Linked DNA regions of Homo sapiens: all the other regions are linked to region 1. The links are contacts of gene promoters, found by promoter capture Hi-C in blood cells and fetal thymus (Javierre and others, 2016). All regions are on one chromosome and are shown on one strand. Each heading gives the region's core, a stretch centred on a gene start or on the middle of the fragment in contact. The rest is flanking DNA. Distances are from core to core; before and after follow the strand shown. Region 1 holds the start of HAO2 (hydroxyacid oxidase 2). Region 2 overlaps SPAG17 (sperm associated antigen 17). Region 3 overlaps SPAG17 (sperm associated antigen 17). Region 4 overlaps SPAG17 (sperm associated antigen 17). Region 5 overlaps SPAG17 (sperm associated antigen 17). Region 6 overlaps SPAG17 (sperm associated antigen 17). Region 7 overlaps SPAG17 (sperm associated antigen 17).

The links. The method cuts DNA at HindIII sites, captures the fragments that hold promoters and counts their contacts. A CHiCAGO score of 5 or more calls a contact.
Region 2: a fragment that was not itself captured here is called in contact with the fragment with the promoter of HAO2 in region 1 in 1 of 17 cell types (endothelial precursors); the score reaches 5.9 in endothelial precursors.
Region 3: a contact is called between a fragment that was not itself captured here and the fragment with the promoter of HAO2 in region 1, in 1 of 17 cell types (endothelial precursors). The highest score is 12.5, in endothelial precursors.
Region 4: a contact is called between a fragment that was not itself captured here and the fragment with the promoter of HAO2 in region 1, in 3 of 17 cell types (endothelial precursors, M2 macrophages and erythroblasts). The highest score is 12.3, in endothelial precursors.
Region 5: a fragment that was not itself captured here is called in contact with the fragment with the promoter of HAO2 in region 1 in 1 of 17 cell types (endothelial precursors); the score reaches 7.9 in endothelial precursors.
Region 6: a fragment that was not itself captured here is called in contact with the fragment with the promoter of HAO2 in region 1 in 1 of 17 cell types (endothelial precursors); the score reaches 12.8 in endothelial precursors.
Region 7: a contact is called between a fragment that was not itself captured here and the fragment with the promoter of HAO2 in region 1, in 9 of 17 cell types (endothelial precursors, M2 macrophages, naive B cells and 6 more). The highest score is 21.3, in endothelial precursors.

What each region holds. Positions count from the first base shown.
Region 1 is chr1:119,367,095-119,370,344 of GRCh38, forward strand. HAO2 (hydroxyacid oxidase 2) reads left to right here and starts at 1,691. Exons shown (of 8, transcript NM_016527.4): 1 at 1,691-1,808. It overlaps HAO2-IT1 (HAO2 intronic transcript 1), which reads left to right and starts at 1,852. Exons shown (of 2, transcript NR_046780.1): 1 at 1,852-1,914; 2 at 2,990-3,237. The HindIII fragment of the contact is 4,151 bases long and covers 1-2,275 here.
Region 2 is chr1:118,002,967-118,006,216 of GRCh38, forward strand. SPAG17 (sperm associated antigen 17) reads right to left here. Exons shown (of 49, transcript NM_206996.4): 32 at 2,448-2,636. Among named protein-coding and RNA genes, the nearest start is that of WDR3, 75 kb to the left of the region's middle. RefSeq lists an enhancer at 1,071-1,586. The HindIII fragment of the contact is 1,160 bases long and covers 1,218-2,377 here.
Region 3 is chr1:118,068,327-118,071,576 of GRCh38, forward strand. All of the region lies in intron 17 of SPAG17 (sperm associated antigen 17), which reads right to left. Among named protein-coding and RNA genes, the nearest start is that of SPAG17, 120 kb to the right of the region's middle. The HindIII fragment of the contact is 2,099 bases long and covers 516-2,614 here.
Region 4 is chr1:118,088,279-118,091,528 of GRCh38, forward strand. All of the region lies in intron 10 of SPAG17 (sperm associated antigen 17), which reads right to left. Among named protein-coding and RNA genes, the nearest start is that of SPAG17, 95 kb to the right of the region's middle. The HindIII fragment of the contact is 1,291 bases long and covers 966-2,256 here.
Region 5 is chr1:118,104,395-118,107,644 of GRCh38, forward strand. The region is part of intron 4 of SPAG17 (sperm associated antigen 17); the gene reads right to left. Among named protein-coding and RNA genes, the nearest start is that of SPAG17, 79 kb to the right of the region's middle. The HindIII fragment of the contact is 1,232 bases long and covers 897-2,128 here.
Region 6 is chr1:118,122,835-118,126,084 of GRCh38, forward strand. All of the region lies in intron 3 of SPAG17 (sperm associated antigen 17), which reads right to left. Among named protein-coding and RNA genes, the nearest start is that of SPAG17, 61 kb to the right of the region's middle. The HindIII fragment of the contact is 535 bases long and covers 1,206-1,740 here.
Region 7 is chr1:118,142,955-118,146,204 of GRCh38, forward strand. All of the region lies in intron 3 of SPAG17 (sperm associated antigen 17), which reads right to left. Among named protein-coding and RNA genes, the nearest start is that of SPAG17, 41 kb to the right of the region's middle. The HindIII fragment of the contact is 2,678 bases long and covers 257-2,934 here.

The DNA of each region.
Region 1 (3,250 bases), core at 441-2,940:
CAAAAATGCTGCCTCAAATAGCTCTGCCTGTGGCCCTATATCCCCTATTTGAGATTAGTTCACTTAGGTGCAAACATTAGAGGCTGATATTAGAGTGTGTTACCTTGTAGAGATGATGTTCTTTAACTCAGTGCAATCATCAGATTTAAAAGGTCTCCAAGAAGGTCATTATTTCAAACTTGAGAATCTCTCATGAGAAGCTCTACTGTTCTTTCTATCTACTGCCAGCATCTTTTAAGTATTAACTCACTTACTTCTCATTACAGTGTGGGAGGTATTATGAGGAAACTGAGGCACAGAGAATTTAAGTAACATGTGGATGTTAGTGAGTGAGTGGCTGCAGTTTGGAGCTTGAGCACCATGTTCCAGTGTGTGCTCATCACCAGGCTTCCTTCTGGAAGGGAGAGACAGAGTCGGAGTCTGGAAAACAGCAAGGGAGGGTCTGGATCAGGGGACTGTGAGCAGGCCAGGTGTTGTGAGAGCTGACCGAGGACATGGCCTAGAGGCTGATTATGGAGATTGTGAAAATTGCTATGGAAAAGAAATTTCCAGAACCCAGATTTTGGCTACTTTTGAAAGCATTTTTGAGGTAATACTGTCCTCTAGTGGCTAGATAGCAGGTAGGGATTACCCTCCAAATAAATAGCCAATGAGCCTTGAGTGGAGATGGTATGACAAGTCAGTGGTAAATTCATCATTTTGCTCTCTAACTACAGGTTCTAAAGGAAAGGCAAACCCCACTGCTATGGTCATCGGTACAGCTCAGGATTTCGGCCTCCTCTGCTCCGTGTGTTGGCTACAGGCTAGGTTCAAATCCCAATTCTGCTCTTTACTGCTGAAAGGCTTTGGGCATGTTCGTTAATCTCATTTTCTCTTCTGAAAAAGAGACAATCTTGAAAAGATTGACCTTCCGTGAAGATCAAATGAAGTAATGCGTGTAGTGTGTCTGGCACGTCGTAAGCGCATCACACACGTGAGCTGTGGCAATACTAAGGAGCAGTGGCAAGAGCTGGGGGAGGAGTGGAGACGAACAGACCTGGACAAATTAGTGACCTTTCTGGGACCCCTACAGAACTCTTCTGGAGAAATTAATTCTATTTTTCCATGTACTTTTAAGTTTGCTTTTCCTAGCATTTCTTCTACATTCCTGAATAATTTTCCACTCAAAAATTTCACTGGTTCTCCCTGACTCCCATATTAATCTAGACATAATTACTTCCCCAGAACAGTTCTGTGGGCAGGGAGGGCTCTACACTATGCACCCTCCAAAATCCCCAAAGCTCGGACCGTCCTGGCCTGGGTCCCCACTGCTGTCCTGCCCATGGGCTCCCAGGCTGTGCTTGCTCTTCTCCCACCCCAACCCCATCACCACAAAAAGCCCCTCCTCCAACCCGGGGACTTTTGTAATTTCCTACCTGAAATCATCCACTCCCTACCTCTAACAATCTGTGATGAGCAGAGGACAACATCAAGTTTGAATTTAGAGGTAGGGAATGGGTGATTTCAGGTAGGAAATTACAACTTCACTTTGAAGTTTAATTTTGTAATAAACTTCACTTAATTTTGAAGTAAATTTGCAAAGTCAGCAAAATTCTTTCAAAGTCAACCTTGCTCTGGCCTAGTTGCTTATTTACTGCTAAGCTGGATGTTTTCATTAAAAGATTAACTTTGAGACTTCAGCCTCTTCTTTAGCCTGAACTGTGGGTAGTGATGTGGTGTGTTTCCTAACACCTCCGGCAGTGAGCCAGGCTTTGAGTGGCTGCGTCTAAACACTTCTTTCCCTGAGGACTGGAAGACATTAGAATAAGGTTTGTCATTGAGTGTGTTCTGTGTGCTTGGAACTGAGAAGGGTGATGAAGTGCCAGATAGGATGGGAATGGAAGATATCGTGGAAGCCAACTATGAGTTTGCAAGGCAAGGACCTTGGCAAAGATGGTCCTAGGGAGACAGGTGTTAGGGAACTCAGAGGGCATGGGCAAAGGAAGATTTGGTTTCAAAAAGGATACAGACAGAGAAGGTTAAGTCTAGGAAGTTGAGTCTTAGAATTGTATGGTGGAATATTCGTGGGTGTCCATAGGAGGAAAAATGGGTTAAAATGTTTTCACTTGACAGCGTTCTGAAAACCTAAAAGGTATTGCTATTGCCTTCAGGGATATATTTAGTATTCTGACCACTGCTTCCCGGCCACAAGCAAAAGAAAACAGTGACATGGCTATGCTCCTAAAAAAGTAAAGAAGTTAATGTGTCTCAAACAATGTAGTTCCTTTGAGCAATAAGCTTATTTGGAACAAATGGGTTACAAAGTCCCACTAATGAAGAGCCTCTGATTGTGTTAAGTTGAATCTACAGATCAACCTGCGGAGAACTGCCAAGAACGCTAATGAAGACAGGGAGGTACTGGTATAAAGATAGATAACAGATCAATGGAACAGAATAAAGCGTCCATTAGCAGGAAGCAAAATCCGCAAACTTTTATTCTTAACTACTACTATATTCTGCATTTTACAAGATCCTTCAATTCTCACAAGATCCCTATGAGATAGACAGTAATAACCTAATTTAAAGATAGATGAGAATTGGAGCTTGTCTAGAATAGATTGAGTGGAACATCACTTGTGGTATATCATTTGAGAGGTAATGGGAATATTGCCAAATTCCCAGGTAACTCTCCCCTCAAAGGGACTCCTGTTGTACTCTAAATCGTATCAGCTATCAAATGATGAGCTATGAAAGTCTGTCTTCTTCGACTGTAAGCTTCTTGAGAGCAGAAACTGATGTGATAAAGGTCCCCCCCCATATCTCTAGTGTTTAGCATAATACTTTGATATATTATGTTAAATCAGGCTATGTTATAGTAAAGAATAAACCTTAACAACTTAGTGAGATAACACATAAATATTTATTTCTTCCTTACACAATATCAGCTGATCTCCAGGGCTACCCTTTTCCAAATGGCGTTTTGGGAATCCAAGTGGCCTTTCTCTTACAGCTTTGCCTTCTTGAGGATGGAGGATCGCTGTAGAGGAGGAAACAAAGCTGGAGGGTCACATACCAGCTCTTCAATCCTTGGCCTAGAATTCACACCTGCTATTCCCACTCCCAGGCCATTGGCCAGAAGAACTAGTCACAGAGCCATGCCTGTATTTAAGCAACAGCGAAATGTTAAGCATGTGGGGAGCAGTATATGCCTCCGCCACCCTGGCTGAGAGTGTGTGTCAATAAACCTTCTTGGATAAACTAATGAGTAAAT
Region 2 (3,250 bases), core at 548-3,047, 1.4 Mb before region 1:
TTGTTTCTTTCCATGTTTAGTGCTTCCTTCGGGTGCTCTTGTAAGGCAGGCCTAGTGGTAACAAAATCTCTCAGCATTTGCTTGTCTGTAAAGGATTTTATTTCTCCTTCACTTATGAAGCTTAGTTTGGCTGGATATGAAATTTGGGGTTGAAAACTCTTTTCTTTCAGAATGTTGAATATTGGCCCCCACTCTCTTCTGGCTTGCAGGGTTTCTGCCAAGAGATCCACTGTCAGTCTGATGGGCTTCCCTTTGTGGTAACTCGACCTTTCTCTCTGGCTGCCATTAACATTTTTTCCTTCATTTCAACCCTGGTGAATTTGACACTTGTGTCTTGGGGTTGCTCTTCTCGAGGAGTATCTTTGTGATGTTCTCTGTATTTCCTGAATTTGAATGTTGGCCTGCCTTGCTAGGTTGAGGAGTTCTCCTGGATAATATCCTGAAGAGTGTTTCCCAACTTGGTTCCATTCTCCCCATCACTTTCAGGTCCATCAGTCAAACATAGATTTCATCTTTTCACATAGTCCTGTATTTCTTGGAGGCTTTGTTTGTTTCTTTTTACTCTAAATTTCTTTTCTCACTTTATTTCATTAATTTGATCTTCAGTCACTTATACCCTTTCTTCCACTTGATCAAATCAGCTATTGAAGCTTGTGCATGTGTCATGAAGTTCTCATGTCATGGTTTTCAGCTCCATGAGGTCATTTAATGTCTTCTCTACATGGTTTATTCTACTTAGCCATTCGTCTAAGCTTTTTTCAAGGTTTTTAGCTTCCTTGCGATGGGTTTGAACATGTTCCTTTAGCTCAGAGAAGTTTGTTATAACTGACCTTCTGAAGCCTACTTCTGTCAACTCATCAAAGTCAGTCTCCATCCAGCTTTGTTCTGTTGCTGGTAAGGAGCTGTGATCCTTTGGAGGAGAAGCACTCTGATTTTTAGAATTTTCAGCTTTTCTGCTCTGGTTTCTCCCCACCTTTGTCGTTGTATCTACCTTTGGTCTTTGATGTTGGTGACCTACAGATGGAGTTTTGGTGTAGATGTCCTTTTTGTTGATGCTGACACTATTCCTTTCTGTTTGTTACTTTTCCTTCTAATAGTCAGGTCCTTCAGCTGCAGGTCTGTTGGAGTTTGCTGGATGCCTGGGTATCACTAGTGGAGGCTGCAGAACAACAAATATTGCAGAACTGCAAATATTGCTGCCTGATCCTTCCTCTGGAAGCTTCGTCCCAGAGGGGCACCTGCCTATATGAGGTGTCTGTTGGCCCCTACTGGGAGGTGTCTCCCAGTTAGGCTACACGGGGGTCATGGACCCACTTGTGGAGGCAGTGTGTCCCTTCTCGGAGTTCAAACGCCATGTTGGGAGAACCACTGCTCTCTTCAGAGCTGTTGGACAAGGATGTTTAAGTCTGCAGAAGTTGTCTGCTGCCTTTCGTTCAGCTAAGCCCTGCCCACAGAGGTGGAGACTAGAGGCAGTAGGCCTTGCTGAGCTGTGGTGGGCTTTGCCCATTTCGAGCTTCCTGGCTGCTTTGTTTACCTACTCAAGCCTCAGCAATGGCGGACCCCCTCCCCCAGCCAGGCTGCTGCCTCACAGTTTGATCTCAGGCTGCTGTTTAGCAGTCAGCAAGGCTCCTTGGGCGTGAGATCCACCAAGCCAGGCATGGGAGAGAATCTCCTTATCTGTTGGTTGCTAAGACCATTGGAAAAGCACAGTATTTGGGCAGGAATGTCCTGTTTTTCCAGGTACAGTTTGTCATGGTTTCCCTTGGCTAGGAAAGGGAAATCCCCTGACACCTTGCACTTCCCAGGTGAGGCGGATGCCCTGCCCTGCTTCATCTTGCCCTCCGTGGGCTGCACCCACTGTCCAACTGGTCCCAGTGAGATGAACCAGGTACTTCAGTTGGAAATGCAGAAATCACCCATCTTCTGTGTCGATCACACTGGGAGCTGCAGATTGGAGCTGTTCCTATTCAGCCATCTTCAGGATTGTGTTCTTGATTTGGCACTCAGCTTGGATGTTGGTCCACTTCCCCACTTTCAACCCTACTGTATCCTTCTTACCATCTTACTCTGTGACTACTCAAAGAAACTTGCCTCCTGTCTTGTGTTTGCTCTGACTTCAACTTGGATAAGGACCATTGCCACATCATTCTTTATGTTGGCATTATTTTCAGATGTCTGCTACTGTTTCTTCCTTTCTGTTCTAATTATTTATTTAGCCCTAACATTTCTATCCCACCAATTATTCGGCTTGCCATTCTCCATGAAAGTACACTTAAGAATCAAAGGAAATGTATTGACATTCATTACTGCTTGCCCAAAGTATTGGCAGTAAGTGGATAATTAATCCCAAGGCAACTAAGGTAAAAATCTACATGGAAGCTTTGTAGTGTGAAATATCTCAAAAGCAAAGCCACAGGCTCTCTCTCCATACCAAAGGTGCACTTTACCTGAAAAGTGTTTCCCTCAGGATCCAGAACCTCACAGATAACCTCTGAAGTATGCCTCATGATGTACCTGCCAGCTCGCAGCTGCTCACGCTTTTGAAAAGGATAGTATATATTACTGCTTGACTCATGGCAGTACACAGCTGAACAATCCTTGTCAATATAAAGAGAGCCTGTGTTTGGAGGTAACACCTGAAAGAGTAACAGAAAGACAGAAATTATTAAAATTTTCTTGTTAAATATGTGGGACTTGGAAAACCATTTTAGGAGAAAGAATACCCATAGATCCTAGTCACAAACTGTGTTTGCAGGAGGAAAACATTAATCAAGGGAGGACTTAAGGTTTGGAAAGGGCTACTCGATAAAGAGGCAAACTGAATAGTTAGGATATCATTTCTCCTGTATCCTCATATCTTATCTGCTCGCTTTAATATCTCTTCTAACTAATTGTCTTATGCCCCCTTATTTCTAATATTTAACATATTTTAGCTGAGGTTACATACATGTTTGGCCCTATTCATCCTATTCTAAATGTTTGGGGTTGCTCATGATCTTGGATAAGAAGCATCTCTGAAAGGGTATAAAACTGTGCGATAAGTGCTCTTAGAAACTCATCTCTCCTCTCTCTGGTGGCTGACACGGTCCTTAAGTAATAGACTTCATGTAATGAATTCTGGTTCAAACAGATCTTTTTCCGAAATATAATTTACATATCATAGATTTACCCTTTAAAAGTGTATAATTCCGTGGGTTTTAGTATATTCAAAAATGTGTGAAGCCATTATCACTAATTCCGTAACACTTTT
Region 3 (3,250 bases), core at 315-2,814, 1.3 Mb before region 1:
CATACATGTGGTGAATATCTTTGCATTTTAAAATATTGTTATGTAGGGTATCATCTAGTACTTACTGATGTTTTTTTGAAAAGCAAATTCTGCTCACACTATAAACCCAGAAAACCATTGCGTTTATGATGAATATATATCCTTTCTTTTAGATAATAAGAGCTTTGAAATCTTTGGGTTTTCATATTGCTTTGGGGGTGCTAAAAATACAGCACTAAGTTTCACAGAACTATAGCTGCTCTCAATCAATATGTAAAGTTTTCATATCTTATTTTCCCCTTTTTTACTAATTGGTGCTTGTCTTTTATTCTGTATTAATATTATTGGTTACGTTAGTTATTTAGTTAAGTTTTTCATTAAAAATGAGTACCTATTGTGTGGCAGGCACTGTGCAGGTACTAGGAAAACAAAAATAAACAAAATAGATAAGATTTTCCTCTAAAATATGATAAAGATTTTTTTGTTGTTGTTAATTAGAGACGGGACCTTGCTATGTTGCCCAGGCTGGCCCCTAAAGCTTAGCCTCAAGCTATCCTCCTCTCTCAGCCTCCTGAATAGTTGGGACTACAGACCTGTGGCTTTATAGATTATTTTGGAGTTGAAGGAGGTGTGTCCGAAAAGATGAAATTAATGGAATATCTGATATATAGAGAATGGATTAGAGCAGGGCAAGAGTGGAAGCAGGTAATCAGGAGGATATTGTGGTGGAATTAGAGGGTGGTAGTCATATAAAAGTAGGCCGGGTGTGGTGGCTCACGCCTGTAATCCCAGCACTTTGAGAGTCCAAGGTGGGTGGATCATGAGGTCAGGAGATTGAGACCATCCTCACCAACATGGTGAAACCCTGTCTCTACTAAAAATACAAAAAATCAGCCAGATATGGTGGCACGTGCCTATAGTCCCAGCTACTCAGGAGGCTGAGGCAGGATAATTGCTTCAACCCAGGAGGCGGAGGTTGCAGTGAGCCGAGAGCATGCCACTGCACTCCAGCCTAAGCGACAGAGTGAGACTCCGTCTCAAAAAAAAAAAAAAGTGGTGGTAGCTGTGGTGCAGAAGAGCTTGAAGATATATTTGGAGGTATACCCCTTAAACACTGATGATGGATTAGGTATCAGGGATAAAGGAGAGGTTGGAACAAAGGATGATTCTGGCTTTTTGCTTGAGCACTTGAATGATGGTGACCTTTTCTGAGATGGACAAGGGAAGAAATGCTTAGGTGGGAAAAATATGAGTGTCATATAGGATACTAAATTTGAGATGGATACTAAATTTGATCAGAAATTCAGGTAGAATTTTGAGTAAGGTATAATAATGTGAATCTCTAGAGAGAGATAATTTAAAAGATATGGGCATCAGCATTAGATAGTATATAACAGATGAGATCATCAAAGAAGGGTGTTTACAGAGGCAAGAAGATGCTCTAGGGCTTCCTGGAGGCTCCAGAGCCTTGAGGCACTTCCATATTAGATGCTGGGTAAAGGAGGAAAAGTCAACAAAATTCCAAATACAACACTGAGGAAACCAAGAGTGCAGAGTGTTTCATGGGGGAAGGGATAAGCTCTGCAATGCTGTTAAAATGTCAGGGAAGATGAAGAAAGATAAGTGTCCATTAGATTTGGCAAGACAAAGATTATTGATTACCTTGAAAAGTGCAGCTTCATGGAGCAGTAAGGACTGAGAAAAACTGAAATAGTATAAAGTCTGAAGTAAACTTTCAGTTACAGAGAAAAGATTGAACATTTGCACTCTCTAACGCCTCATTAAAAGAACAGTAACATTTTGTTTGTTTTTTTAATATCATAAAATTGAAAGCCAACTTCAACTTGTTGAAGGAGAGGAGATAAAGGCACCGGAATTTTAGAAGCTGGAAAGCAGAAGGATAAATGCTAAATGACTTAGCAGAATACAGAAAGCCAAGTCCTAAGATTAATTTTAGGAGAGACCACAGGCAACCCCATTTGTGTGCAGAAATATAGAAAGTCTCAGGATATGGAAATACTAGTCACCTCTGCAAGTGGGGTGAAAGTGGCACTGAAAATAGGAAGATTAGTTTAAAATCTTTTTAAGAAGCAGTTAGGCCCCTGGATTCCATTAAAATTCTGAGCAACTGGGCTATTGCCTATCTCCCACTCTAGCAGAGGGGAAGAGGGTAACTACAGATGGTAGATGAATGGGTTCTAAGAACAGTGGACCCAACGCACACTGACAGAGAAGTACATTCTAGAAAAAAAGGGAATTGTGTAAAAGCCTAAATCAGCACTGCTCAATAGAAATATAAAGTGAGCCACAAATGTGAGCCACATGTGCAATTCTAAATTTTATAGTAGCCACATTTTAAAAAGTAAAAAGAAACAAGTAAAATAAATGTTAATGATATATTATATTTAACCTGATAGATAAAAATTCTTATCATTTCAACATATAAACAATGTAAAAGTAATCAATGCCACCTTTTTAAAGTCTTGGAAATTGAGTGTGTAATAGCACTTATATAGTGTATAGCACAGTTATTGCACATCTCAATTTGGTCTAGATTCATTTCAAGTATTCAGAAGTTACATGTGACTAGTGGCTACCACACTGGATAATGCAGATCTAGATAATAAATGTCAGAAGCTTAATACCCTTCCCTCATTACCTAGCTCTCAAAACACTGACAGGAAGGCTTATGTCTTTCAGACAGAAAATTAGACTTTTTTTTTTTCATGGAGAATTTAAATGGCCCAAGAAAACAGAACTGACATACCAACAATGGTGAGTCTCCTATGGAAATCTCCCAGTCAAATCACCCAACAATGAACTCAGTTATTGACAACCCCCCACCCCACCTCATATAGCACTTCCTATCATATTTTTATTGTTTCATTATTAATATGAGCAAAGAGGACAATATTATATATTACCCTCCAATGTGAAAAATGAAGACGAAACAAAAAAGACAAAAAATGAGAAAAGAAACTTGGAGGAAAAAGAGATAATTCATGGAGAAGACAACTTCAGAGGACTTTAATATCCTCATAGAGATAAGAGAAGGTATTATATCAGAAATGCAGTGGCTCACACCTGTAATGCCGGCACTTTGGGAGGCCAAGGCGGGTGGATCACCTGAGGTCAGGAGGTCAAGACCAGCCTGGCCAACATGGTGAAACCCCATCTCTACTATAAATACAAACATCAGCCAGGTGTGGTGGCAAGTGCCTGTAATCCCAGCTACTTGGGAGGTTGAGGCAGGAGAATCACTTGAACCTGG
Region 4 (3,250 bases), core at 361-2,860, 1.3 Mb before region 1:
TTCTATTTGTTAGGCGCCGAGCTCATTAACTGTCTTCTTTGGTACCTGGAACATAGTAGATGGTTAATAAATGTTTGTTGCTTTAAGTTTAGTAAAATAAAACAAGAAAGGATAAGATAAATAAAATAATGATACTGCAAGTTCTAGAGAGCTTTTGTACTTTTATCATTTATTGATATAATAAAACTATTGATCTTCTAAAAACTTCATGGAGCAATTAAAGGCAAATATTAGTGTGATTATCTAATTGGTTAGAAAACTAAGACAATCAAAAACCAGAAAAATGTATATGGGAGGTATCAGAGATGATAGAGTCTGAAAAGGACTTTAAAATAAACCTTTTATGTATTAACAGAAAAAATGTGTCACATCCATGCACTAAAAACAAGAATAGGCAATTGTAAAAAAAAAGTAGAGAATTTACAAATTAAAAACATTACTGCCAAAACAAAACTTCAATAGCAGACTGGACTCCCTGAAGAAAGCATTAGTAGGAAGTTAAGCTGGAATTCCCAAAGGGATAAAATTGAAAGAAAACTTAAAAGACAAAGAGAAAAACCCTGAAACTCCAACACCCATTCAATAATAATTAAGGTAAATCGATAGGAAAAATGATATTTGAAGATAGAAGACTTTCTTAGAATCTTCTGAATTTAACAAATATGTATTTAGTGTCTACTATGGGTTAGGTGTGGTTATTGTGTGCTGAGCATACAGCAACGAACAAGACTACATTGTTACTGCTTGCATGGAGTTTATATTCTAGTAGGAGGACGGGGAAGGGAAGAAAAAAATAGCTGATCAATATATTGCAAAAAGAAAAGCTGTTGATAAGAAAATAAAACAAGGTGATGTGGTAGAGAGTGCTGTGTGTTGTGTGGGGAGAGGGTTCTTTAGATCAGGTGGTCAGAGAAGGCCTCTCTAAGGATTGACACTTCTACTGGAGACCCTCCAGAAAGAGAGAAAGCTTTCTAGGCAGAGAAGGTAGAGTAAAAGGTTAAGATAGAATTAAGCAACATATTTGAGGAAAAACCAGAAGGCCTATGTAGATGACGTGTGTGTGTGTGTGTGTGTGTGGTGGCAGGTAGGAGGTGAGATGACAGGTACATCTCAGAACCCTATTTTTAGGGCCTTTATGGGACAGTGTAAGGAATTTTTATTTCACACAGAATGTGACTGGAAATCAGATGATAATTCCCTTACACCATAAGGACAAGTATGATAAAATCATACCTAGACATAGTCTTGTGTTATCAATTATAAAGAGAAAACCCTAACAGCTGCTAGAAAGAAAAGTAAAGATTATCTTCAAAGAAAAAAGTATCAGATTGACATCAGACTTCTTAACAGCAACATTAAAAGGAAGACGACAATGCAGAAATGGCATCCAAATACTTTTCTGTGCAGATTCACTAGGTTTTAAGTCATTTCTGCTACTTATTACTTGAACAAACTTGAAAAACTTTTTGTGCCTCAGTTTCCTTATCTGTAAGATGGGTGATACGGTTTGGCTCTGTATCTCCACCTAAATCTCATCTCAAACTGTAATCCCCACGTGTCGAGGGAGGGAGGTGATGGGAGAATGAGGGTGGTTTCCCCCATGCTGTTCTTATGATAATGATGGAATTCTCATGAGACTTGATGGTTTTAAAAGTGGTAGTTTGTTCCTGCTGTCTTGTGAAGAAGGTGCCTGCTTTCCCTTCTACTATGACTGTAAGTTTCCTGAGGTCTCTCCAGCCATGCGGAACTGTGAGTCAATTAAACCTCCTTTGTTTATAAATTACCCAGTCTGGGGTAGTATCTTTACAGCAGTGTGAAAATGGACTAATACAATGGGGGATAAAAACAGTTCCTACTTCATAGGATTGTTCTGAAGATTACATGAGTTAACATATTGAAAGCATTTAGAACAGTGCCTGGCGCCTGTAAGTGCTACATATGTGCTACTAGTATGAATCACAAACTCTTTCAGATACACATAGAACCTTCACAATGACCATGTTACATCAGGTCACACAGGAAGCCTCAGGAAATTTGAATTTGCTAACTTGCAGAAAATGCCTACTGATTATAATGTTAAAAAATTAGAAATCATCAGTAAATAATGGAAATCAAAATAATTCATGGGTTAAACATGTAAATAAATAAAAGATTTAGAATTGAATACACTGAAAGCATCAGGATGCAAACAAAGAAACACTCGAAAAGAAATGTATAGCCTTAAATAAAGCAAAAAGACTAAAAATAAATGAAGTAAGCTTTCAATTAAAATGAAATACAAAATAAATCCAAAGAAAGTAGAAAGATGGAAATGACAGAGATGAGCCAGACACGGTGGTTCATGATTATAATCCCAGTGCTTTAGGAGGCTTAGGTGGGAGGTTGGCTTGGGGCCACGAGTTAAAGACCATACTGGGCAACATAGCAAGGCCTTGTCTCTCCAAAAAAATTATTTTAAATTCGCTGGGCATGGTGGTGCATGCTTGTAGTTCTAGATACTCAGGAGGCTGAAGTGGGAGGAACACTGAGCCCATGAGTTTGAGATTGTGAACTATGATTGTGCTACTGCACTCCAGCCTAGGGGACAGAGAGAGACCCTGTCTTAAAAATAATTAAATAAATAACAAATATATAAATAAATAGATGAAGAAATTAATGAAGAGATTAATAAAATAAAAAGTAAAAAGGTGTTGATCAATGAAACCAAATCCTGGTTCTTTGAAAAGACCAATACAATAGCTATGCCCTTAACAATCATGATCAAGAAAAGGAAAGCACAAATAAATAACATCAGTCATGAGGAAAGGTACATGACCAGATACAGAGGAAATTTTAAAACATATTTAAGTGAATAGTGTAAAGCACATTGTATCAGATTTAAAACTCCAATAAAATACTTATTAAGACATATTCATTAAGAAAAAAGCTGATGACAAAAATTGGCCTCAGAAATACAAAAATCTAGTTAAATCTACAAGCATGAAAGAAATTTTAAAGATAAAGACTATTAACAACCTCACCCACTTGTCCATGTTCTCTTCCTTTTCCTCTTCCATTAAAATGACACCAGACACAGAGTATTGAGGATATGTTCTACCAAAACTTCAGGGAATGTTACATAAATGGCTTCAGAGCATAGCAAAAGAAAAGAGAATTGAAGCTGAAGATTTAAGCAGACTTTAGTTTCATCTGAACTATTCTAATCTTTATAAAGGAGAATGCACTTAGGTATTATGAGTATAATTTTAAA
Region 5 (3,250 bases), core at 263-2,762, 1.3 Mb before region 1:
TGTCAACTTTGAGATGCCTCTTGAGAGGTCAAGAAGGTAGTTCAATACACACATTCTCTCCCTAGAAGAGAAATTTGGCTAGAGTTACAAATGCAGGTGTGCATAACATACAAATAGTAGATAATCGCATGGGAAGAGATGAATCACCATGGGTGAAGTTTCTTGAGAAATATGAGAATTGAGTCCGAGATCATGCTAGAGACTCCAATGCTTACCAATGGGTATAGGGAGAGATGCCAGCAGAAAGAGACAGCGAAGTGGATAAAAAGATAGGGAAAAATATATAGTGTGAAGCTAGAGAACTAAGAAACCAAAAAGGTCAAAAAGACAAGAATTGGCAGTTGTAGGTAACATGAAGAAGAGCAATTATGGTGGAGTGTGGAGGTGGAAAATAGGAGGGCAGTATCAATAGAGAAACCACTTTTATGGACAACTGTTTCTGGAAGTTTGGTTGTGAAGCAGAACCAGAGCTCTGAGTTGTTCAGTGGGTGAGTGGATGCAAGGGGGTATGAGGTCAAGGTATGTATATATGTAAAGTCAAGAGATGTTATGCTTGCAGGCTGATGGAATGATCCAGTAGAGAAGGAGACAGTGAAGATACGGGGCTGAGGAGACTGAAGTTCTCTAGAAGTCAACATGGGATAAGAACAAAAGAATGTGCCAATGACTGGACCTTGATAGAAGGAGAGGGAATTTCTTAGTTTCATAACTAAGAACAACAGGAAGAGGCTGGGTGCCAGAAACAGAGACATCTTGATGGTGTTGAGAAAATGTTTCAATTTTTTCAAGTGAAGCATGAGGCAAAGTCATCAACTGAGAAAAGGCAGGAAAGAGGCAGGAGGTTTGAATAGGGAAGATGACGTAAGAGTTATCTTATGTCAGAGAGTGGGGGAGCAAGCTTACCGAGGTAATATGGTAGGACTCTGCCAGTGGTGAGAACTTATTGAAAATGTTGAGATTGTTAATTTTACATGAAATCAGTCTGTTTAATTGTGTGAATTCCTCCATTTATGTTTAGCTGCTCAGGAATAGAAATGAAAATGATGGATCACTGAGTTCATCCTGGGAGGGGTTTTGCGAAATGATTGTGATGGAAGGAGAGAAGAGCAAGGGGAATCAAGAGTAAGCAGAGAAACGATAATACTGATTGGATCATGGAACCTAAGCCAAACAAATAGCAGGAGAGGACAATGAATAGAAAGTGTTGGGATTTATGGACTGGGATTTATAATGTGGTTGAAGAAATTATGTAGGAGGATATTGGATTATGAGTAAGAGACAAGGATAGGAAATTTCCAAGGTTAGAGAACAGGACATCTCAAGACTTTGGAGGTGATGAGGGCTTCAGTGATGACAAGGTTCAAGGGAGGCAATGGCTGAGGTGGAGTGGAGGAAATAATCATTAGAGAACTAAGAGGCCAGTAAGAAGAGCATTACTCAGTAATAAAAAACATCAAAAAAGAAAAAAAAAGAAGAATCAGAGAAATCAGAGAGGCAGAGAATAACAGTGTTAATTCCAAATTGTCCAGGGCAGAGATTTCCTGATAGACAGATAGGAGGGTCTGGGTAACCTGGGAGTTACAGCCATGTGGTCAGGGGGCTGCATCAGGCCATCAGGACTGTAAACCTTTAAACTAACTCCCTAGTTAAGACTTGAGGTACTACATAAGTTTCTGACAGTTTGCCTTCCTATGTACAATTTGTCTACAGGGAGAAAACTTTCAGTTAATGCTGATGGGTCTGTCCCACAAAACTGACAGTAATATTTACTGTAGTAAATTAGCAAGGGGCTATTCTAATCATGGCTGTCATTGTCACTATTATTATCATCCTTATCATTATCAATATTACATTTCTATTTATTACATTCTTACTATAGTCCAAATATTCTATCTCGTCAAGTCTTCACAATAACTACAATAGGTAGAGCACCATCTTCATTTTACGGAGGAGAAAACTGAGTCTTAGTGAGGGCAAGTAGTTGTTCAAACTCAAAGCTAATATGTGGCAAAGCCAGGCCAGTCACCCATGCTCTTTTTTAATGGGTTTGTAAGGCACAAGTCAGTGCCCCTGAGTGCAGTTGGCCTGGAAGCACTGGTAAGACTCATGCAGGGCTCTCTAACAGCCAAGCTTTGGATCATAGCAAATTTACTAATTTGCAACACCCTGTGCAACATGTTGGTAGACAGCTGGCCTTGCTACAGAAAAGTTCCAATGTAGCCATCAAAAACATACCAGAAACTTTTACAACTGCAATTTTAAATAAAATCTCAGGGTGATCTTTTGATCTAAAAAGATGAAACCATTTTAGATTAAATTATTTTAAAGTTTACCTGGAAGAATAAACATTAATTCATTTATGCATTCATTCATTCATTTCATCATTTCACAGATACTCCTCCCCATCATGTGTTAGACAGTAAGAGGCCCTCTGGCCCTCCAGGTTCTCCTAGGTAGGGTGTGAGAGCCTGTGCAGCCACATAAGTCTCATCCCTTTGAAGCCATTTTAGCAAAGACTGGAGTTCTAGAAGCTCAGGAACTCTCTGGCCCTTTCTTCTATTTGGTTCTTGGGATTCTGGGATTCTGCAGAAAGGAGGGCGGACTACAACCAAACATTCAAAGGAAGTGCTAAATTCTAGTAGCAGAGTATAGTTTCCAGACATCATCATCTTTAATTTGATCTCACAAGGCAACCTGTAAGATGGGTAATTTTATCCCCATTTTATAAATTAATACAGAGTTTGTCCGAAGACACACAACTGTGGTAGAGAGTGCTGGTCTGACTTCAAACCCTAAACTCATTTTATTTCCATGATACTCTTGTCTGTCTTTGATGCTCTCCTGATTTCTCCATACCTGTCTGCCTCCCTCTACTCTGTCTTCCCAGGGGCTGAATCACACTTGCTTGATGCCCTTTTCTTTCTCCAGAGCACTCCACCCACCTCAGCCATTCATCCTGCTCACTTCCCTTTCTCTCTCTGCTCACTTCTCCTTTCTCTCCCATTCTTTTTGCCTTTGCATTCCTCTAGCAAGGCCAAACTTGGGAGACTGGAGAACAGTATATTTTAAACTAATTTCCATTAACATTAAAATTATCAATATTTACCTCCCCCACCTTCGCAAAAGTATTAAAAATGTTTAAAGTTTTTATAGATGAGTCTCACTCTGTGGCCCAGACTGGACTCAAACTCCTGGGCTCAAGAAATCCTCCTACCTCAGACTCCCGAGTAGCTGGGACAACAGCTGCATG
Region 6 (3,250 bases), core at 223-2,722, 1.2 Mb before region 1:
TTGGGATTCTTGAAGATTCCACAGCCCAAGTTGTGAGAGCAGAGAATGGAATGGAATGAGGAGCAACTGGGCAGTGAGACAGTGACCTGAATTTATTATCAACTGGCCATAACCTGGCTACCCCTTTTATTTAACCCTTTGTCCAATCTGAAAAGGACAAATTGAGATATCTTTAGAGAGAAGCAGAGATAAAAAGAAAAGGTGTAAAAATGTATTTTATTTTGGTGCAGTGTATAATGGGGAGGATGTAGAGGAAAAAATATGCTATTAATTTCTTCTCAAATGTGAGATGGAGGAATTCCATCAATAGTGTTCTGTAATTTTACAGCCTCCTTTCCTGTTCCCTCTGCTCCCTTCCCTCCTTCATTCTTTCTGCATTTATTTAGGGCCAACTATATTGTAGTTATTGCATTACTTGATCCTGTATGTGTCTAGTCTATCCAATTCACATTCTTTAAGTAATGAGTAATTTCCAATGAGGCATAATTGGAAAAACAGCTGAAAGGATAAGGGTAGCAGTGAGAGGGGGCTATGGAGAGAAACAGAAAAAAAGAGAAGAAAAAGAACAGGAATGACTGAAACATATTTTCTCACTTTGAGAAGAGGAAAAGAAAATAAGCAATATTAAACTGTCTATACATAAATTTAAAGGTGACTGAAGATATAGGTTCCATATAGATCATACTGTCTGTCTAACGCAAATGGAACGTTATGAAAGTGCTCAGACCACAGCTTGGTGAGAAATTCATAATGATGATAAATATCTGTAGCAGGTGACTCCTAGATCATTTTCAGCTGTCCATAATTAAACTGGTATCCATCTCTCGACAATGTCAGGGCTGTAAAATAATTCCAGTCATTGGACCCCTTACATCTGTGCTGAAATGAAATAATATTTGGCAGTAACAAGGAGTCACTGAAACTAAATAAACAACCCCTTTCAAGACTACATAAAAGTTGGTAACATAATAACATTTGACAGGGATTAAGACCTCTTTGGGGCTGTAAGGAAGTTTCAGAAGCAGCAATAACAAATACATGGAAGGTAGAACAGATCTATGCTTTAACAGACATGTATAATTTAAAATGTAATGAATTTCCTACGGGAGGTGTACATTTTGAACAACCAATATGTGCATGTCAAAAAGCACAGGACTATTTTAGAAATGTTTGCTGGAATTACTCTTCAAAGAAGGAAAAAGCAAAGCTTCCTTTTTATTAAGGAGTGTTTTTGTTTTTGTATACTTGCAAAATGTATAAAGGCACATGAAGCTGAATGTGATAACGTATGGAAGAATGACATACCAAGTTAAGGGCTTTTCTTTAGGTGTGTATTAGCAACAAACGATTCTACTATCATGGCAATGTTTTGTTTTGGTTTTTAGACTAAGATCTTTTCCTTAGTCTAAGATGCTCCCACCCCTCTGAAGTCATTCTTGGTCCTTGCAGTTGTAGTGACCTTCCCTTCTGAACAACCCTACAACGTTTTTTGTATATTTCCTAAGGGATTTAGCTGTCTCTTGTATTAAAATTATTTGTGCACAGGGTTTGTCTCCTCTACTAGCTTGGAAGGTTAAATCCTTTCAGATTCATCTTTTGAAATCCCCTCACAGAATCTGATGCATATATAGACAAACAGTATATTCACTCCTTAAATAAACATAAGAATGGCATCTCTAGAGCTTTTTGTTGTTTGGCTTGAAGGTAAATGTTTTTGATTGTTTATAGCTGCAATTACAAAGCTTTAGGAATATATTTCAAGTAGTAGTAGGTGCTCAGACTGTGTAACACACAAATGGTTATGTAGCACACACCCTGTGCTGGACAAGGACCGTTCCAGGCACTTCACATATTCCAATCCATTTAATTTTCACCTACACTTTTGAGGTGAGTATTCCTATCACCTATTTTATTAGATACAGAAACTGAGGCCTGGTGATCACACAGCCGGTAATTAGTAGAGATGGGATTTGAACCCAGGCTATCTGGTTCCAGAATCCTGTTTCTAGTCAACATATTGTGTGGCCTCACAGTGGGCCTTTTCACCCCTTAGCTGGAGCTACTGGACTCCCATCTTGGGTCACGGTCCCTCTTCTCCTGGGCATGGATGTGTCCTAGTCCCTCCCCAGTCTCCATGGCCAATCCCCATCTTAGCTGCAAGAGCCTGAGAGCCTTTTAGCCCAGGTTTTTATGTTTAAATATTCTTGCTACCCTTACTAGTTTTGCTCCTACCTGATGCCTCAACTCTAAATAGCTGAGCTGTTTCTTTTTTCCTGAGACCTAGTGGGGACCTGTGACTCAGGACCCTCAGTCCTGATAGCTCCAGCTATTGCTCGTCTCCTGGCCTGAGCACATATCAATTTTTTAAAAAATTTGTATTATTTTTTATTGTATTCATATATATATATATATTTTTGACATATAATAATGGTAAATATTTACGGGATACAAAGTGATATTTTTACACATGTGTAGAGTGTGTAATGATTAAATCAGGGTAATTAGCATATCTATCACCTCAAACACTTATCATTTCTTTGTGTTAGGAACAATTCAAAATCTTCTTTTTTAGCTATTTGAACTACATACAAGTTATTAGACTATATTCACCTACAGTGCTATAGAACACTAGAATTTATTCCTCCTATCTAGTGGTAATTTTGTATCCATGAACCAACCTCTCCCTTTCTTCCCCTTTTTCCTCCCCTTCCCTGACTGTAATAATTGCGACTCCACTCTTTACATCTATAAGCTCACTTTTAGCTCCACATATGAGTAAGAACATGTGGTATTTATCTGTCTGTGTCTGACTTATTTCACTTAACATTAGATTGTTCAGGCTCATCCATGTTTTTGTAAATGACAGGATTTCATTCTTTATTATGGCAGAATACTATTCCATTTTGTATAAATAACACATTTTCTTTATCCATTCATCTGTTGACAGACACAGATTGATTCCATATCTTGGCTACTGTGAATAGTGCTGCAGTAAACAGGAGGGTACAGATATTTCTTTAATATACTGGTTTCTTTTCCTTTGGATAAATACCTAATAGGGGAATGGTGGATCATATAGTAGTTCTATTTTTAGTTTTTTTGAGAAATCTCCATACTGTTTTTCATAATGGCTGCACTAAAAACCTTTCCCACCAACAGTCTATGAGTTCCTTTTTCTTAGCATCCTCACCAGCCTCTGTTATTTTCTGTTTTTTTTTTTTTTTGATAATAGCCATTCTAACGGGTGAAA
Region 7 (3,250 bases), core at 346-2,845, 1.2 Mb before region 1:
TTCCCTCTTATTTTCCATCTTTCTTTCTTTCATCCTCCAAAGAAAAGACATGGTCACTTAACCATATAAATCTTAACCATAAGAATTAAAAAACCCTGTTGACCCAAACATGTGGGCAAAAGCCACTCATCGAAGTGGCTTAAAAGCTCCAACTGAAATTATTTGATCTCTTCATCATCTGCAGATATACCTTCATGTTTTTGCCTGAGTAGAAGGAAAAGTAATAAACATATCATAGAACTACTGAGAGATTTAAAGCTTAATTCTAAGTAACTAGCAGTAGCTTATATTGAAGACATATTAAACCACAACAGTCACTTCCAGAATTTAAACTATTTATTCTCAGCTTGTGTGTGATGCAAGTAGAAAAAACAGACTTCTGAATCAACAAGTTACCTAACCAGTCTGATTCAAATTTCATCATTCATAGGTATCTGAAAGGTTGTTAAGATGGTTAAGTTAGCCAGGTGCAGTGGTTTACACCTATAATCCCAGTAATTGGGCTGGCAGGGGCGGGAGGATAGCTTGAACCCCAGGAGTTCAAGACTTACCCAGGCAACATAGCACGCTCCTGTTCCCCACAAAAAGAAAAAAGCCAGCCAAAAAAAAAGAGATTAGGTTAGTTGATATATATGAACTACCCAGCACACAAGACTTGGAATACATGTGTTCAATAAGTGGTAACTTTTATTATCACCATATGTAATTATTGATTTTTCACAGTTTTAAATACAGAAACAGAATGATACAATCTTCTTGATTCCTTCCCCAGCACCCCTCCAATCCTGGTGTCTGTAGAGTATAGGGTGTTAAGAGGTTTCAGAAACCACCCCAGCCCAGACCTGGAGGAGAAGCTGTGATGACTTCTCTTCATTAGCTGAACCTCACTTTATTCTTGTGGCTGGCCCTCCACTGAGGTCTGTCTTGGAACTCCTGATGAGATTCCTGCCTTGCCCACTGCCTGCAGGTCCTAGCCAGCAACCCAGTCCTTGTGTGGCATGGGCTTCCTGCTGCTGGATCCCCGGCTCCACTGCATCACCACCACACCTCCCCAGTGTCTACCTCCCCTCTCCTGGACTGCTAACTATTTGCCACATGGGCTTGGCCAGCTGCCTGACCCCCAGGGTGGAAGAGAGCTGGGGCATGATTTGAATTGTTTTTGAATGCCTTTACTTGAGTTCTGCTTTTCTTTGAAAATAGAACTCCAGGTTTCTGATCTGGGAGGCAAACGTATTCACACCCTGGGAGCCCATTCCTAAAGCAATGGAGCCCTGACCTTCTGCCCCTCAGTGACTAGCTTGAACTTGACTTTCTCTGCTGAGCTGCTTTGGTGCCCTCCAGAAATGTGGGGGCCCAGGGCTGTTAACACATCTGACTGCTCTTTTCCCCATCTTGACAAAAGTCATTCATTTGTAACTCTTCATAGCCCTTTGTAACCGTTTCTAGCATTACTATTTCTCCTCTTCTTTCCTTCTTCGGGTAAGAAATGCCTCCAAAACCCAGATTTTGGCACAAGAACTCCTAGATTGTTTTTATAGTCCCAACGTAGCACTTCTTTGTTACAGCTTGATATTCCCAAATTTTGTTCCAAGTCTCATTATTTTACATTTATAAATATCAGGTTGTATTAATTGGTTCCAGCTTTAAAAAATGTTCCATCAGGGGTTATTTCTGCTATTTTGATAGTGGTTTCTAAATGTGGAGTGCCGAGGCCCTGGTGTGGGCCACGTTCTGTAGGCATCCCTGAAGGACTGATGTGGAACGGAAAGATCCGCAGATTCTGAGTCTTGCTGTATTCTTTGAAGACTGTACTGGCCATAATAGCTTCAAAGAATTTCAACAAGTTCCTAAGACATGACCTTCCCTTTCCGAAAATCACGTTGGCCAGGCTTGCCTTAATCAAGCTGTGCTTTTCTAAGCATCCTTTTACTTGATCTCCTGCAGCAGTTTTTAATACTTTTCCTACAAGTGAAGTTAAACTAACTGGCCTGCAATTTCCTGGTGTGTCCCTAAGCTCTATGAAATAACGGCATTAGGTTGGCTAGCTTCCAATTCTTCCAGAATTTTTTTGTTTTGTTTTAAAGCGCGGGATTGAAAAGGCCAGAGAATGCTTCCTGTCTCCCTTTTCCTTCGTTTCTTCCATGACATACTGCTCTCTCTGTTCCCAGTAGAGCTGCCATTTTAATAACTTCAAACCTCTTAAATGTTTTCACATATTATTTGTACCTATCTCTGAAGCATGAGTTTTCCATTTTTCATTCTGACAAGGGCCACCCCCAATATAAGGGCTTACAATTCTATTAAATTGACTATTAATTCAAGGCACTGTTTAAAAAATGAGTTTCATATCAGGAATCTGAAAAAGAGTGGCAAAATAGATTATAATTAAGCCTGTGTTCTCACTTGTCAATTACTAATAAATACATGTTGGAAAAGACCTGAGAAAAATTTCTATACATCCAGGAAACAGAAGTCAAAAAATGGAACTATTACATCTGGGCATACTAATCTGAGGCACTAGCATAGTGTCTTAAAGTATGGTGAAATGCATTAGATCTGAAGATCTAATTTGCATTCTACATTTTATTAAACTGCATTTGGTCCATTATTTTTAAATCTAATATCAGAAAAATCTTTCCACATTTGATGGTCTCCCGGTTGCAATAGAAAGGCCCGTAGAAATATTTTAAGATATATTTGTTAAAAAGTTATTTTAAAAATTATTTTCTTAAAAATATGAGAATTTTTTTACTGACAGGAGTAAAAAAAAAATTAATAATTATTTGCATTTACAAAATTGCACCATATCACATAATGTTTAGGATAGTTCAAGTTCTTTATTGTACAGAAACTTGGAAAATTGTTTTGAAATAAGTGAGTCATCAACTAGAGCATAAGAACTTTTATTCTTTATAGACAATTTTTGTTTCAGTAAGCTTTTCATTTTTTTTATTTTTCATTTTGTGATGACCTAATGCGTCTTTTATAAATAAGTCACAGGCACATAAATCACGGCCCATTTGTGTGGATGAAGGCTCATTTCCTGGTTGGTAGGCATGGTGACCACCATCATGAAATGAAAAGAAACATGAAGTGGAATTTAAAAACTTTTAGGATGGTTGGTTCTGATTTCAGATAAATTGGATAAGTAAACCCCTATCAACTAGTAGCTTTTTCTGATTTACCAAAGTGATAATGTCAAACCTAAAATTTGCACATTTATCCCATAAAGTTCACTTACTGTGTATCA